Linked DNA regions of Homo sapiens: region 1 is linked to region 2. Evidence: promoter capture Hi-C in human tissues and cell types (Jung and others, 2019). All regions are on one chromosome and are shown on one strand. Each heading gives the region's core, a stretch centred on a gene start or on the middle of the fragment in contact. The rest is flanking DNA. Distances are from core to core; before and after follow the strand shown. Region 1 has its middle 36 kb from the start of SLC5A4. Region 2 holds the start of SLC5A4 (solute carrier family 5 member 4).

Region 1 (2,700 bases), core at 17-2,516, 36 kb before region 2:
ATGTGGGGTCTGGGGAAGACTCACTCTCTGCCTCTAAGATAGCACCCTGTTGCTGTGTTCTCTGGGGATGAATGCTGTTTTCCAAACATATGGGGATTTTCTAGCATATACACACACACACATACACTAGAAAAAAACAAATATATATCTAGTATGTACATATTAGAAAATATGTGTGTACAGATTAGAAAATTCCTATAGTTCCATATACCATATATATTAGAAAAATATATATAATATCTAGTATATATTATATATAATATCTAGTATGTATTATATATAATATCTAGTATATATTATATATATAATATATAGAATATAATATATATATTATATAATATCTAGTATGTATTATATATAATATCTAGTATATATTATATATATAATATATAGAATATAATATATAATATCTAGTATATGTATTATATATTATATATAATATCTAGTATATATGTTATATATATATACTAAAACCCCGTCTCTACTAAAAATATAAAAAAATAGCCGGGCGTAGTGGTGCACACCTGTAATCTCAGCTTCTCAGGAGACTGAGGCACGAGAATCACTTGAACCCGGGAGGCAAAGGTTGCAGTGAGCCAAGATTGTGCCATTGCACTCCAGCCTGAGTGACAGAATGAGACTCCATCTCCAAAAAAAAAAAGATAGAAAAGAAAAATAAATTATATATATACATACATATATATACACACACACATATATATAAAATATAAAAATTTCCATACATTGGGAAAACAAGAAATATAAATAGGCTAAGGTCAAGGAATAAATCATAATGAAAAGTAGAATACATTTGAGTATAAGGGAATTGTTACATATTAAAACTTAGGTGATTCAGATAAATAAGTGCTTAAAAGAAAATTCAAGCTTAAGAGCCTATCTTGGTAAAGAAATCAAAGAACATCTAAATTAATGAAGAGACGTACCATGTTCATGAGTTGGAAGACAACACAGTAAATGTGTCAATTTTCCCCAAGTTGATACACAAGTTTGACTGAAAACTAATGTCAGCCATACTTCTCACAAATTAAAAATAGAACAGTTGACCCCGGCGCAGTGCCTCACGCCTGTAATCCCAGCACTTTGGGAGGCCAAGGTGGGTGGATCACGAGGTCAGGAGTTCAAGACCAGCCTGACCAATACGGTGAAACCCCGTCTCTACTATAAAAATACAAAAAATTGGCCAGGCATGGTGGCGCACGCCTGTAATCCCAGCTACTCGGGAGGCTGAGGCAAGAGAATCGCTTGAACCCGGGAGGCGGAGGGTGGCAGCCTGGGTAACAGAGAAAGACTCCATCTCAAAAAAAAAAAAAAAGAACAGTCAAACACAAAGTATATAAAAAGAGAACAATGAAGATAAATACACAACTAAAGAAAAAGAAAATAAACATAACACAGAGAGGATCAGCAAAGCCAAATGCTAGCTCTTTAAAAAAATAAAATTGATAAATCCCTGGCAAAACTCATATGATGAAAATGAAAGAAGACAAATTCCAATATCAGAAATTAAAAAGAAGACACCACTACACATCCAGCAAGCATAAAAAAGAGGCTGAAATGGTTCAAATGTATGTTTTCCCCCAAAATTAATATTTTGAAACCTAAGACCCAATGTGATAGTATTAAGAGTTGGGGCCCTTAGGAAGCGATTAAGTCCTGAGGATGGAACCCTCATGAATGGGATTAGTGACATTATAAAAGGGCTGGAGGGGACTTTCTGGGCCTTTTTGCCTTTCCATCTCTTCTATCATGTGAAGACACAGCATTCATCCTCAGAGGACACAGCAACAAGCTGCGATCTTGGAGGCAGAGAGCGAGTCTTCTGCACACCCCACATCTGCCAGTTCCCTGATCTTGGACTTCCCAGTATTCAGAACTGTGAGAAATAAATTTCTATTGTTTGTAAGTTACCGAGTCTGAGGTATTTTGTCACAGCAACCCAAAAGGACTAAAAAGGAAATTGTTATGAAAAAATCATATCCAAAGCATTTGAAAATATAAAATAAAAAGTACAAGTTTTCAAAGCTGATATTAGAAAAATAGAAATTTAAAGAGTCCTGTAGTAATAAAATCAATTGAATCCATAACCAAATCTTTCCCACTAAGAAAACCCCAGGGACAAGGATGAAGCTGGAAACCATCGTTCTCAGCAAACAAACTAACACAGGAAGAGAAAACACCACATGTCCTCATAAATGGGAGTTGAACAGTGAGAACACATGGACACAGGGAGGGGAACATCACACACCGGGGCCTGTCAGGGGATGGGGGCAAGGGGAGGGAGAGCATTAGGACAAACACCTAATGCATGCAGGGCTTAAAACCTAGATGACGGGTTGATAGGTGCAGCAAACCACCACGGCACATGTGTACTTATGTCACAAACCTGCACATTCTGTACATGCATCCCAGAACTTAAAGTAAAATAAAAGTAAAAAGAAAAAAAGAAAAACCCAGGCCCTACAAATTCAACCAAACATTTAAGGAAGAGATCATGCCAATCATAAGCTCTTCTAGAAACCACGCCAATCATACACAAGCTCTTCCAGAGAATAGAAAAGCAATAGAAAATGAATATTAAAGAGCATAAAATGGCCTCAATTCATTTTTGAGACTAGAATTACCCTGATACTAAAACCTGACAAAGTAAGTCTCACTCATCAGCCTAGATGCAAAAATACC
Region 2 (2,700 bases), core at 191-2,690:
TGAGTATTGGAATATTATTCAGCCTTAAAAAGGAAGGAAATTCTGATACATGCTACAATATGGATGAACCTTGAAAATGTCATACTAAGTGAAATAAACCAAAGAGGAAAATATTGTATGATTTCATTTGTATGAGGTACCTAGAATAGGCAAATTTATATAGTAAGAAAGAATAACAGAGGTTACCAGGGCCTGGAGAGAGGGAGGGATGGGGAGTTAGTTTTTAGTGGGTACATACTTCTGTTTGGAGATGATGAAAAAGTTCTGGAAATGGATAGTGGTAATGGCTGCATAACACTGTAAATGTACTTAATGCCAATGAATTGTACACTTAAAAGGGATTAAAATGGTAAATTTTATGCTATGTATGCTTTGCCACAATAAAAAATGAAGTATAAAAGAAGAATTTCTGGGCTTTCCGTTTTTTCATGTGTGTTTTTGGTTTTGTTTTTTTGTTGTTGTTTTTTTTGTTTGTTTTTGAGACAGGATCTTGCTCAGTTGCCCAGGCTAGAGTGCAGCGGCGTGATCATGGCTCACTATAGCTTTGACCTCCCAGTCACAGGTGATCCTCCCTCTTCAGCCTCCCAAGTAGCTGGGACCATACGTGTGCATCACCACACTCAGCTAATTTTTATAGAGACAAAGACTCCCTATGTTGCCCAAGCTGGTCTTGAACTCCTGGCCTCAAGTGATGCTCTCTCCTTGGCCTCCCAAAGTGCTGGGATTACAGGTGTCAGCCACCGCATAGGCTTTACTTCTAACTTCTTCTTGGCTGTAGTCCAGGAGTCTTGTTTCCTGAGTCCTCATGATCCCCATCACATGCTTCCAGGTTGATTCACTCTTTGTACAACCCTCTGACCCAGCGCTCTCCACAGCTCTGCCCTCAACTCACCACATATGGTGCTTGAAGAGCCACTTCCTTTCCTATACAGGCCACCAATGTCTTTTTGTGGCACATGAAACCCACTTCAGAGAAATGTGGGACTTTGGAATCCACGAAAGGCATAATTCACTTCACTGTCAAGGGATATAGCTCATTGGTCAGAAACTGTATCTGTTCTCTGAAGGACCATTGCATTCGGTCCCTCCTGGCTGGTTTCTGGTACCTTCTAGTCTGTCCTTCTCCCCTCCTTGTCTGTCTTCATTTCTCTCAAATCCCCCCTCCACCTGGGCAAATCTCTTTAAAGACCCTGTCTTTGCACTCAGAGAACGCCCCATGCTCCACCTCAAATTCTCCCCTCATTTCTGGCCCTGCATCCCTCATTCTCACACTCTACCTAGGCTAGCACTCACTGGTGGAGGGCTGGGGTGCCACAGCTTTGGAGAAGAGGTTTAAAGGTCTCCATATCCAGGAGCTGGCTCTGATATCTCGCCCCACCTGCCTGAGGCTGATCATTAACCCAGAACTTATATAAAGATGGCTCATGCGTGGAATGGGTATAGCACTGCCTGCAGCCATGGCCAGTACGGTTAGCCCCAGCACCATAGCTGAGACCCCAGAGCCACCTCCATTGTCTGACCACATCCGAAATGCTGCTGACATCTCAGTCATTGTCATCTATTTTCTGGTGGTGATGGCTGTTGGGCTGTGGGTAGGTGGAATCCCAGTGGCTTTTAGGGTGGGCACAAGGTTTAGGAGGGGGTATCTTAAGGGGGGAAGGGGTGTGGTTGTGACAAAGCTTTTCACAAATGTCATTGTGTTATCAGAATCATTTTCTTGTGTGTTGCATAAATAACGCTTACAATGAACTAATGTATTCTCCTAATAACCCCATCGTGTGCACACAGCCAGCACCGGGACCTTCAGATTTACTATGCATCCCCAACACCTGGCATAATGGACAAAGAGTGTATTTTTATTATCGCATTTCTTTCGCTTTCTTTTGTTGTTTGCTCACTTTCTGATTTAGTGAGTTGGACTCTTCATTTATGTTGAATTTTTTTATTTTAATAAATTTGAGACTGCAAATTTTTTTTTTTTTTGAGACGGAGTCTTGCTCTGTCGTCCAGGCTGGAGTGCAGTGGCGCTTGCTTGGCTCACTGCAAGCTCCGCCTCCTGGGTTCACGCCATTCTCCTGCCTCAGCCTCCCAAGTAGCTGGGACTACAGGCATGCGCCACCACGCCCGGCTAACTTTTTGTATTTTTAGTAGAGACGGGGTTTCACCATGTTGGCCAGGATGGTCTCGATCTCTTGACCTTGTGATCCACCCGCCTCGGCCCTCCAAAGTGCTGGAATTACAGGCGTGAGCCACCGTGCCCGGCCGAGACTGCAAATTTTATTGCAAGCATGGCTCAATGATACCTCACATGGTTTTCATAAGTGAGAATAATCAGAGCAGTTAAGATAGAAGTTAAGGATTATGATTTTTTTAAGTTCTTCCAGCCCTGGGTTTTTACAAAGCGACTGTTTTTGAAGTCCTTTAAAATTTGATGCTATAGAACACTTTCCAGCGAAATGTTTCTCTCTGTAGGAGTGCTGAAGTCACCCCTCTCAGCACCCTGGCCAGAGCCTCTGGGGTGTCTGGGTGCACTTGCTGGGGCTTGACCCTCACCTGTCTTCCCTTCTGCTCAGGCGATGCTGAAGACCAACCGAGGTACTATAGGAGGCTTCTTCCTCGCTGGTCGTGATATGGCCTGGTGGCCGGTAAGTGGATCGAAGTTTTCTGGAGATAAATTTCCTGTGTGTGTGCTTAAAACTG

Evidence for each region. Contacts are between HindIII fragments. The study calls those that stand out against the background at their distance.
Region 1: a fragment that was not itself captured here is called in contact with the fragment with the promoter of SLC5A4 in region 2 in 2 of the 25 tissues and cell types used here (IMR-90 fibroblasts and lymphoblastoid cells).

The regions. Positions count from the first base shown.
Region 1 is chr22:32,289,840-32,292,539 of GRCh38, reverse strand. It overlaps a transcript of SLC5A4 not described here. Among named protein-coding and RNA genes, the nearest start is that of SLC5A4, 36 kb to the right of the region's middle. The HindIII fragment of the contact is 6,132 bases long and covers 1-2,700 here.
Region 2 is chr22:32,254,087-32,256,786 of GRCh38, reverse strand. SLC5A4 (solute carrier family 5 member 4) reads left to right here and starts at 1,440. Exons shown (of 15, transcript NM_014227.3): 1 at 1,440-1,592; 2 at 2,574-2,645. The coding sequence starts at 1,458. All of the region lies in intron 2 of SLC5A4-AS1 (SLC5A4 antisense RNA 1), which reads right to left. The HindIII fragment of the contact is 10,747 bases long and covers 1-2,700 here.